Regions from separate parts of the Homo sapiens genome. Here region 1 is linked to region 2. Evidence: promoter capture Hi-C in human tissues and cell types (Jung and others, 2019). All regions are on one chromosome and are shown on one strand. Each heading gives the region's core, a stretch centred on a gene start or on the middle of the fragment in contact. The rest is flanking DNA. Distances are from core to core; before and after follow the strand shown.

Region 1 (6,357 bases), core at 2,469-4,968, 160 kb before region 2:
TTCTACACTCAGGCCATTGGCCAGAATAAGCACATAGTGCCATTACTTGCAAGGAAGCTGGGAAATCTTCCCATGTGCCCATGACAGAAAGAATAACTGGATATAACGAAGCTGGTACTGCTATCACACGCAGAAATTAAAACTCATTTTAACCTTTGTTTTCTTGTTTATTGACCCAAACTCAGAAATGGTCTCTGTCAATCGTAAGGTCACATAGGAGGACTGCTGATGGATGGTCAAGCCAAAATATCTCTTTAAAAGCTTTTGGTATGCCATGTATAAACTCATACTTGCTTAAGAAATTTCTGCAAAACAGATATTGCAGCCACATATTAGAGCAATCTGGTAAAGCAGTCTGTAGTGCTGACATGGTAAAAGAAAGTCCTGTGATGAGATATTTTGTTAACAGGTGTTATGTGTTTTTTGAAATGAGGATTTTCCAATAAAAAACAAGCCCCATATTCCCAATAACTGAATTATCTCCTAGCAGGAAGATCACACTGCTTTCATAAATAACATATCCTCACAATGAATAGTTTCATATAAAAAATGTCAAATACTCAAGTTCAGAGAAAGAGTGGAGCTTGGTGGCATATGTTGGTCACATGGCTTCTCAAACTAGTTCTCAAAAATCCATGTTTTTGTCACCATCCCTAGATATTCTAATTCCAGAGACTTGGAATGGGGTCTAAGAATCTGTATGTTTCATAAGCACATCAGCGATTGTGCTGCATGTGGTCCTCGGCGTCCACTGAGAAACACTGGTATATAAAGAGCACAGGTTATGGAGTCAGACTTAGAATTTTGGCTCCACCACTCACAACCAGTGTGACTTCATGTTTCTATATTTGTACAACCACTTATAGGTTCTTGTAAAGATTAAATGAAATAATATATGTACAATGACTGGCACACAGTAGGCCCTTGAAAAATGCTAATTCTCACACACAATAAAAAATATATACCTGTTTAGCTCACCTTTGTTGCCATTTGGGAGAGTAATTATGTCTTATCCCCTCAGTATAGGAAACTCAGCACCACCTGAAAAACTGCCTAAGTCTTCTTTTTCCTTTTGTGACTAGTTATATTTTCCCACAAAAATGCTAATGTGAAATTAACTTTTATATTTGCTAAAACTACTAGAAACTAGAAATAAATCCTTAAAAAGTCAAGATATACTTTATGTTCCTCCAAAGTATAGGGGCATTTTTTAGCCTACCAGGTTTCAACTATTAATATTAACTTTCATCAGACTTTTTCCCCTACAGGAATATTGAATGCAAGGTTCAATATGCCTTTGAGAACCATGTTTACATGTTGAAAATACTATTCAGAAGTTTATTTGATTTTAAAACTAATATTCAACTCATTAAAGTTATAAATTTAAAAGTCCAGTTTTTCTTTGTGCATTTAACTTCAGTTTAAAAATCTCATTATTCTATTCTTATGTCTACCAAATTTTAACAACTAATTTTAGAGGGCTTTATATAATGTTTGATCTCATTTATAACCTTAAACAACCTCAATATTTTAAACTGCACATATAAAATAAATGTATTCGATTTCTCTTTTATCTGACTCATCTAAGCAAATCTATTATGGAGCAATTTAGCTTATAAATGTAGTTATTCTAAATTTCCCTAAACATTTATACAGTATATATCAACTCAGCAAGACTTCCACTAACAAGTTCAAGTCTAAATCAGTTAGTACAAACTTTGAATTGAAATCACAAGGTTAACCTGTCACTTAAAAATATTTATTTTATTGTAGTAAGAATGCTTAACATGGGTAGATCTCTACCCTCTTAATATATTTTTAAAGTACACAATACAGTATTATTAACTATAGGTACTATGTTGTACAGCAGACCTATAGAACTTACTTACCTTCTATAACTGAAACTTTATGCCTGTTGATTGGCAACTCCCATTTCCCCTTCCCCTCAACTTCTGGTAACCACTATTCTACTCTCCGACTCCATGAGTTTGATTATTTTAGATACTTCATATAAGTGCAATCATGAGCTACTTGTCCTTCTGTCACTGGCTTATTTCACTTAGCATAAAGTTTTCAAATTTCATCCCTGTTGCTAAATGTTGCAAAATTTCTTCCTTTTTTAAGGCTGAATATTATTCCTCTGTATTATTAATAATTAATGCTACATTTCTTCATCCAGTCATCCACTAATGGACATTTAGGTTGTTTCCACAACTTTGGGTATTGTGAATAGTGCTGCAATTAATATAAAACTGCTAATAGCTCTTTGAAATCCTTATTTTCATATTTTAATTTTAAATTTTTTATTCATTTTAATTGACAAATACAAATTGTGTATATTTATCATGTACAACATGATATTTGAAATATGCATATATTTTAGAGTGGCTAAATTGAGCTAATTAATATAGACATCTCACATCCTTTTTTAAAGTGGTGAGAACACTTAAAATCTACTGTCTTAGCAATTTTCATGTTTTGAAATACATGTATTTTTATGCCTTGAAATACAATATATTGTTATTAACTATAGTCACCATGTTGTGCCACAGATCTCTTGAAATTATTCCTCCTGTCTAACTAAACTTTGGTATCATTTAACCAACATCTCCCCAACAGCCTCCCCCAACCGTTACCATTCTACTCTCTTTAAGATCAACTTTTTTGGATTCCACATATCAGTGAGATCATGTGGTATTTGCCTGGCTTATTTCATTTAACCTAATGTCCTCCATGTTCATTCATGTTGTTGCAAATGACAGGAATTTCCTTTTTTAAAAAGGCTGAATAGTATTCCATTGTGTATATATACCACATTTTCTTCACCTGTTCATCCTTGGCTATTGTGAATAATGCTTCACTGAACATAGATGTGCAGATATCTCTTTGACATACTGACTCCATTTCCTTTGGTAGTACCCACTAATGCTTTTGCTGAGTCATATGGTAGTTCTATTTTTAATTTCTTTAAGAACCTCCATACTAGTTTCCCTAATAGCTGTACTAATTTACATTCCAATAGTATGCAAGGGTTCCCTTTTCATCATCCTTGCCAATGTTTACCTTTCATCTTTTTGATAATAGCCCTTCTCACAGGTGTAAATTCATAGCTCATTGTGGTTTTATTTGCATTTCTCTGATGATTCATGATGTTAAGCAATTTTATCTGCTTGCCATTTGTATGTCCTCTTTTAAGAAATTTCTATTCGGGTCATTTGCCCATTTTTAATCAGATTATTTGTTTTCTTGCTATCAAATTGTTTGAGTTCCTCATATATTTTGGATATTAATCCCTTGTCAGATATATGATTTGCAAGTATTTTTTTTCCCACTCCATAAGTTGTCTCTCCTGTGTGTTGACTTTCTTTTTCTGTGCAAAAGCTTTTTAGTTTGATGCAACCCCAACTGTTCAGGTTGCTTTTGTGTTAATATCCAAACAGAAAAATCATTGCCCAGATCAATGTCATAGGGTTTTTCCCTATGCTTCCTTCTAGTAGTTTTACAGTTTCAGATTGCACATTTAAAACTTTAATCTATTTTGAGTTGATTATTGTATACAGTGTGAGATAGGATCAAATTTACAATAACTACAAAAAATATTCAGGAATGAATGTAACCAAGGAGGTGAAAGACCTGTACACTGAAAACTTAATAGTTTTCAAAAATAATTTCATGAAAAGTAATTTCATGAAAAATAATTTCATTTAAAAATTAAAGAAGACACAAATAAATGGAAAGATAACCCATGTCTATGAATTGGAAAAGATAATATTGTTAAAATTTACATATTTCCCAAGGCAATCTACAGATTCAAACCAATCCTTGTCAAAATTCTAATGACACATTTTCATAGAAATAAAAAAAAATCCTAAAATACGTATGAAACCCCCCAAAACCCCAAATAACCAAAGCGATCCTAAGCAAAAAGAACAAAGCTAGAAACATCACACTATCTAATTTCAAGATATACTGAAAAGTTAAAGTAATCAAAACAGTATTGTACCAGCCTAAAAACAGACATATACACTGATGGAACAGACCAGAGAACACAGAAATAAATCCACTCATTTATGGCCAATTAATTTTGACAAAGATGCCAAGAACACACAATGCAGAAAGAACAGTCTCTTTAACAAATAGTGATGGAAAAACTTGATATGCACACGCAGAGGATTGAAATTATACCCTAATTTCACTTCTTTTGGATAAATACTGAGAAGTGTGTTTACTGGATCATATGGTAGTTCTATTTTTAATTTTTTGAGAAACCTTCATACGGTCATAGAGACTATACTATTTTGCATTCCCACCAACAGTATACAAGGACTGCAATTTCTTCATGTTTTTGCCCATACTTATCTTTTTTTTTTTTGATAATAGTCATCCTAAGAGATGTGAGGTGACATCTAATTATGGTTTTGATTTGCATTTACCTGATGATTAGTGATGGACATTTTTTCATATACCTGTGTTGCCCATTTGTATGCCTTCTTTGGAGAAATGTCTATTGAAGTTTTTAGCCCATTTTTAAACTGGATTAGTTTTTTTTTTTGTTATTGAGTTGTAGGAGTTCCTTATATATTTTGGGTATTTATGCCTTCTCAGATATATAGTTTACAAATATTTTCTTCCATTTCATAAGTTGCCTTTTGCTCTGTTGATTATTTCCTTTGCTGTGCAGAAACTTTTTAGACTGATGTAATTACATTTGTCTGTTTTTTCTTTTGTTGCTGTGCTATTGGTGTCATATTTATAATCCTTGTCAATACCAATGTCATGAAGCTTTTCTCCAACATTTTCTTCTATTAGTTTTACAGTATCAGTTCTTACGTTTAAGTCTTTAATCCATTTTGAGTTGATTTTTGTTTATGGTGTAAGCTAAGGGTCCAATTTCAGTCTTTTGTAGGTGGATACTCAGTGTTCCCAACACCATTTGTTGAAGAGGCTATCCTTTCCACATTGTGTTTTCTTCACATCCTTGTTGAAATTCAATTGGTCATATATGCATGGATTTATTTCTGGGCTCCCTATTCTGTTTCATTTGTCTATCTACTTGTCTTTATGCCAGTACTATTCTGGTTTAATTATTTTAGTTTTGTAATACATTTCAAAATCAGAAGGTGTGATGCCTCCAGCTTTGTTCTTTTTTCTCAAGGTTAATTTGGCTTTTCAGAGTCTTTTGTGGTTCCACAGGAATTTCAGAATTGCTTTTTCTATTTCTGCTAGAAAATTCCATTGAGATTTTGGTAGCAATTGCATTGAATCTGTCTATAACTTTGGGTAGTATAGAAATTTTAACAATATTAAATCTTCCAATTCATGAACACAGAATTTCTTTCCATTTTTGTGTGTATTTTAAAATATATTTTATCAATATTTTCTCATTCTTAGTGTTAAAATATTTCCCCTCTTTAGTTAAGGTTATTTCTAAGATTTTCTTTTTGGTGTTATGTTATTTTAAACCAAATTATATTCCTAATTTCCTTGTCAGTGAGTTTTCTATGTATAAGATTATGTCCTCTGCAAACTGGGACAATTTACATCTTAATTTAGATTTTTTTAAAGATTTTTTCTTCTTTTTATTGTGGGCATTTAGTGTTATAAACTTCTCTTTTATTACTGCTTTTGCAGCATCACATAAGTTTTCGTATGCGGTGTTTTCATTTTTGTCTCAACATATTTTCAAATTGCTCTTTTGATATTTTTCTTTGACCTAGTGTTTGACATTACTGTTAAACAATCTTATGTTGGAAGCAAGAAATGTTTCTAAATAACTCTTACTTTTTAAAGAATATTAAGAATTATAGAATGGTGCCTCAGTGTCAGGTTAGTTTTAACTAATATGGTTAATTTTGTTAGTTTTGGTTTTGTTGGTTTTCTCTCTTGCTCTTTCTCTCTCTCATTCCTTATTTCACTGATTTCTATTTGAAACACTTGTCCCTTTGTGATATGTGTTTGATGAGTTATTTTAGAACATTCGATTCTGCTATAGAACGTGGAAAGTGAAAAAGAAGTATGAATAACAAGTAGTTAGTAAACTGTGAGATATATTAGACATAGAATGAGTTGAATACAGCAGATGTGTGTTTAACATAGACTTAAATCTTCTACCCCTGGTGACACCTATTCTACTTCTTGTGTCCTTTGCCCAAGAAGTGCAGATAAAACCCATAGTTGATAATAATTAGAAAGCTCAACAGTAGCCACAAGTACTTGTCCCTGCAACTCCTTGATAGAGTAAGTACCATATGTTGGCTCTAGTCACCTTTCATACCCTGTATCCCATTGCTCAGACCTCAACTCTGGTTTCTCACATCCACATCTTCAGCAGGGAATACGTGATTAGAGAGGACATGT
Region 2 (6,106 bases), core at 644-3,143:
AAACTGGTTATAATGAAGATTTCTTGTTTACTTATTGTGTTGATGTAGCCAATGAATAAACTTAGAACATTTTATAATATGACCAGATATTATTCTTGGGCTATAGTTCATAAAATAAACTACAGGTTAGAGGCATTGAACCAGAACAAATCCTGGCTGATGGATGTTTTGAGTTATGTTAAAATATTGAGTAGAAATGAGTATCCACTGAGAATACCAACTTAAACTGTAAAGGTTTTACAAATCTAATCATCTTAGTTTCTCTCATAATACTGGTGTATAACCAGCAATCTCAACTTTTTAAAGCTGAGTTATTTTACTACTGAACTCATAGGCTAGCAATATCCTATTAGAAATTACACTTTATAAATTCCATAATACTAAAAGCATTCCTACTTTGTCCTTAATGGTAAGTCAACTGGCCCAAATACATAAAATATTTGCTTTCTATGATCATTTAAGACAGACTTAAACTCGGACGCTCTGTAATTTAAAGATTAGCTTTAAGAACTACATTGTAAAACTTTGACTTATTTTGAACATTTCACCTTCAATCACCGAATAATTTCAACAAATAGCCTTACATAGATAACTTGATTCCGGTTAACCACAGCCTGGAAATAGTCAGGGTCTCCTTAAGATCGGCAAGTGAAACCCTGCGTTCTCTTCTTGCATATGTCACATAGTATTAGGTTAAAGCTTTCATATGAAACTTTTCTTAGGTAGATTTGCCAAATAAAGTCTGTATGATAGTTTACTAATCTCAATTGTATTGTTGATTTTTGACTTGGACCTCAAGGAAAATGAATGTTTTGAGAAAAGGAATTAATTTGTTACAGCTTTTCTTGATGTCTTTCACCCAGGCTTGGGAAGAGCATCATGAAAAAGAGTACTCTTTTGGAAACTATGCACACAACATATTTTTCCTAATAGGTGTGAAGAATGGCTGCTATGCATAAATGATTGTTGGAAAACTATTCTCTGTAAAACATGACTTAACAAGCAACTCCATTCACTACTGTGCTCATTTCCAATATCCAGAACAACCATGACACATCTTATAGATGCTGATATTATATGTTTGTCAGTTAATAAACACCCTTTGGGAAAATTCACAACTTTAACCTCCGTAATTTTCCTACCCAATAAGTTGGAGAATAAAACTTTTGAGGGAAAATTGATATGAACAACATAGTAAAAGTCACAAGAAATCAAACGATTCTTCAATACGAAACCATAAGTTGTTGGCTCTTCCCAGGACACCTATTTTTCTTTTTTCTTTGACAAGGGTAAAGTAAAGCATCTAAGACCTAGCTGACCCTACATGAGAACCACAAGCACCGCAATCAAACCACATTTCTATAATCAAAAAGCAAGGTGCCTATAGCACCTGCACTGTTAAACATCCCTTGGACACCCCAAATCGTTAAGTCCCGCTCATTTCCAAACGCTCCTTACCTGGAATTCTGTCACTGGGCGGCTGGGCACAGCTCAATAGAAGCAAAGGGTGTTCGCAGGTGTGGCTCCAGGGACTCAGGCGCTCAAGCTTCAGCGCCCATCTCCTGGGCAGGAGATGTCAGCCGCAGGGTGAGGTGCGGACGTGCGCACTTCTCCAACCCGGGAAGGTCCGCCAGCCGCGCGGCGCAGCCCACCCAGACGCTGGTGGGCTGGCTTTCCTAGTTTGATGCGAGAGCAAACTGCGTTAGTCTCAGTCCTCCCTCTCCGCCCCTCTCCTGGTTTTCTGACACTTTAAATCTGTCTTAGGTGGTTCAGACCCAAGTCTAGGTTGTATTATCAGCTAAAAGACAACTGTTCTTTCCCCTGGCTTGCTTTCTACCTCCCCAGAGTCCAGGAGGCTCACCTTCCCGGCGCCTTCCTGCGCTCTCCCAGCTGTGAAGCTGTGCGCAAACTTCTCCTGACTTAAGAGTCTCAATCCTAGCCTGCGCTCCCGCCCCACCCCCGCCCGCCTCCCGACAGGCGGCAGAGGAGGTGGCAGCAGAATTGATGAGAGCCAGCCCCCCTTCCCGGACCCCGCCACCCCAGTCAGCCCCCTCCTGTCCCAGGAGAGGGAGGGGCGAGCTGGTGAGCTCCGTGCGCCTCGCGCCAGCCCCAGTCGCCCCGGCCCGCGAGTGGGGCTGCGCTCGCGGCTGCTGTCTCGCTCCAGTCAGGGCTGGGGCTCACCCTGCGAGTCCGGGAGACTAAAGCGCCGCGTAAACACAGGAAGCAGGCGAGGGACCCGAGTTAGACCTTGAGTAGGGAGGGAGAGGGGGGCGACAGTCTGGACTGGGAGACAGCTTTCTGGGAGCCCTGTCCCCTCCCCGGAGAATGCAAATTCCGGAGGGAGGTGAGTTTCCACAAGAACCTTATCCCAGAGACATTGTGACCCTGGCTTCTTCAGCCGCCACTCCGGGGACAGCACTAGGGAGCCTGTGGAGGGAGGGTCGGTAGTGGGCTAGGTAGTGAAAGTGGGGTGAGGACGTGGGAAGACGGCTGGCTAAGAGCTGGGGTGCTAAAAGGAAAAAAGTGCTGAGAGGAAGGAGATGAGAAGAGACACCTTGGGGGTCAGGCAAGCCCTGGGAAAGCGTCCGGAGTTGGGCGGCTGTAGGCTGGAGGCATAACTTGGATTTGGAGAAAGAGTGCCCTCCGTGTAGGGGACTGCTGGTGGGCACAGTGTTTTAGGGTGAATGAAAACAGAGAGGATGGCGAGGGAAGACGGGGATATGGGGTGCCTGACTTGGTGCCGGACACTGCGACTCCTCTTCTTTCCCCCTAAAGCCCTCGATGTCAGCAGGAGTCCGGGACAATCCAATACCAGGCGGGGCGCAGCGGAGGCTGGCAGGCACGCCCTGGGAGGCAGGCAAGTTGATTCCAAGGACGAGTCACCCTCAACCTCTTTTAGCCCACAACTGGGTGGATCAAGGCAGGAGCCAACACTTTTTTCCCTAACTCTGTTTAGGCGGTGTTGGACTAAGAAAACAGCATCCGGTGCGTCCCGGGACCACAAGGTGGCCGTGCACCGTCGAGGTTACTAAACACTGTCTCCTTGGCAAAAGAAATAATAGCAATCATTTAATGGGAGGGGAAGAAAGCCAGACGGCGACAGCACACTTTCCCTGGTGATCTTAGGTTCTCATAAGCACACGGGACAACACCGGGTGACAGAGAAGGAGGTGTCCTGTGAATGGAACTGCAGCCCTCACCCAACCATCCTTGGAGCTCTTCCATGGAAACATCAGTGACTGTAGGCAAAAAATGTCCCCGTTTTATTTTGCATGCTCCTGTTTTATTTTGAATCCTCATACCCCACCCCAGAGAGACAACAGGGACCCCTAATTTGTGTGGTTGAGGCTTTCAGGAGATCCAGTGGAGGACAGACTCAAGGATCAGATCAGCTCTCCCACCCAACATTCCAGGGATTTTGTTTTTCCAGGCTCCCTCCTCTATATACTCCCCCCTTCCCTGTCACCTCCAGTCTGGTGACCCAGAGGGCTGTGTGTGACTCACTGTGCATTCAAACCCTAAGGCACTGCCTCACTGCAGAGGAAGATTGTACAGTCCCTTCATTCCCAGGATAAGTGAGAATGATGTTGTTAGCAGTAAGAAATGTGACTAGGAAAGGAGGCTGGGCAACTGGGAGACAAGGAGGCTTTGAAAGGAACATACACACACACACACACACACACACACACACACACACACACACACACACACACACACACACAGACACAGTAACTTAAACAAAGCCTGTATAAGAAACCCTTCCGAATTCAGAACTTAGATAGGAATCTTCACTCCGTGCTGGGTTGGGCTCAATCTGTCTTGAGTTCAATAGCTCCCTGCTTTCCAACTGCTCCTGACCAGCCAACACTTGACCATGACCTCCTTTAAGAATTCTCTTTTGGAATATTAATTACCTTCTTTTGGTGCAAACAGCAGAGAAATATTAAAGTTGTTTGAGAGTCTCCTATGGTCAACTGCTGGGGCCAAACATTGAGAATTTCTCAGGTTGTAGCCCAAGTCACTGAAATAACAATGATTCAGGGAGACTATTGCTGAGTAGAAAGTGTTGCCGCCCTCGGCATTGTGTGATAGAACAAGTACAAGGAGATTTTTCCGCTGGAGGTTAAATCCTAGGGCAGCCTACCTGATATTGATAACCAGTATTCTGAGAGCAGGATGGGCTTGATTCTATAAATCTAATGAATATATGTGGGATGCAGCCCTTAACCATAATGTAAACAAAGTCTAAAAGTTATTGAGAAAAATGGCATGGGTGTATCATAAAACTTTAAACTGTTTGTGGTCTAAGCATAAGCAACCTCAGCTGATTAAAGTGTGAACTGTGTTAGATACAATATTGGGGGAAACAATGAGAGTTCTCTGTAGGCAGAATATTTCAGGGAAGGTGACACAGCAGAAGCAAGATCAGGGATGAAGCTCTCTTGTCCCCTAAGAAGATTAAATTGACTTTGTCAGTAACAGATATTTATTGAACACCAAAGGGGTTATGTACCTGTTGGAAACACTTGGATTTTACAGAAATTTAAGTCTACTGCTTTCTTAATATTATCACAGTATTTCCTACATGGACACAGTGTGGTAAGTTTTTGGAGGGTGGATGTTAACATGGGGATGGTCTGATAAGGGGAATTGGCATTGTTTTGAAAATGTTATGAGACCCATTACTGGATCTTGAAATCAAGTTAGTGGGCATAAGTAACATTTAAAAAATGAAGTGGAATAGGATAGAAAATATCAGAGTTCATCGCCATTTGAAAGCACAAGAGTGGTTTCTTGAAACTTGTCTTATTTCTCTCTCTCTCTCTATCTCTGTGTATGAAATTGCAAAGTAAAATGTATTTCTTTCTGTAGATCACAAAAATACCTAAAGACACTGGGTTAGAATAAGCTATTCTTCAAGTGGAATACCTTATATTTGCAAATAAGCTTTCAAATGAAATTAGTTCATCAAAGGGGCATTCATAAAATAAGCATCTTAAAATGTGGTAGTCACACATTCCTGGTACTTTTATTGATTATTTATTTTAAAATCCCCTGTCTTTATGATACTTTGCCCCTTTCTCTCTGTCCCTCTTCCTCTTTAGAAAATTTCCCCTTTGGACAGTTACTAATTTAGGGAGAAGTATTCTGTGGATCTTGTCTACAGACTTTTCAATGCAAACTCCACTTCAATTATGAAACCCTCCATCTACATTGCTGAGGGTGTGAAGTTCTGCCACTAGCAAAGGATTATCTGACCTCTCAACTCTGTCTTTCCAAGCAAGGTTTGCCAGAGTTTGAACCATACATACCACTTTCTGGACACTTATGGTTCGAGAATTCAGTGACTTTTCCTTAAAAATCACTAAAGTTTTGAATTTCAGTGAATGGAGGGAAGATTGCCCATTATTAAAGACTAGCTCTATTAATACCTATTCCTGTTAAATATGGTTAATGTGAGGGAGGTCACACTTTGTAGAGACTGAAAAAAGTCATTTAGTTCTTCTTGGAAAAAAATTGTTGTAAGGTTAAATAGAGTTTATTCTTTTTTTAACAGGAATTTAGAGAAAAAATTTCTGGACTCTCTCAGGAATCCAATGGTTAACTTGAATAGCTCCCTATCAGCAAAGTTTTCCTTACATTGAAATCCAGCTCAATCCGTTATGCTTATGTGTTGGTAATTTAGTACATATTTAACACCACATAATTTCACAACACCCTTGGCTAGCCGCTTATGGGGGACCCAAAAAGCACAATATGCAGCTCCTACCCTCAAGAAGCCCACAGTCTATTCAAGAACATTTGTTTCTTCCTCTTGTAGTCTCCTTCCAAATAGACAACAGCTGGTAATTATTCTTTATATAATTACTCTTCCTAGATTTACAGGCCTCACCATGACAGGGCAAATAATAATTTGCCTTAGTGAAAAATAAATGTTTTCCTTTGAAAACAATTCGAACTTTGACCTGATAAATCATGCTCTCTTGAAGGAAGTGTCCTGCTTCGATTTTCCACCTGTCTTTCAGAAACAGGAGCTGGGGTACTTGTAAGTCTCTCTTCTCTCCTCATCTTTCCAAGGGTGTGACACGGCTGTGTTTCTCTAGAG

Evidence for each region. Contacts are between HindIII fragments. The study calls those that stand out against the background at their distance.
Region 1: a contact is called between a fragment that was not itself captured here and the fragment with the promoter of CALCR in region 2, in 3 of the 25 tissues and cell types used here (H1 embryonic stem cells, lymphoblastoid cells and mesendoderm cells).

The regions. Positions count from the first base shown.
Region 1 is chr7:93,411,769-93,418,125 of GRCh38, forward strand. No RefSeq gene overlaps it. Among named protein-coding and RNA genes, the nearest start is that of MIR653, 68 kb to the right of the region's middle. The HindIII fragment of the contact is 3,795 bases long and covers 1,822-5,616 here.
Region 2 is chr7:93,572,831-93,578,936 of GRCh38, forward strand. CALCR (calcitonin receptor) reads right to left here and starts at 1,894. Exons shown (of 14, transcript NM_001742.4): 1 at 1,862-1,894; 2 at 1,459-1,676. The HindIII fragment of the contact is 4,570 bases long and covers 1,123-5,692 here.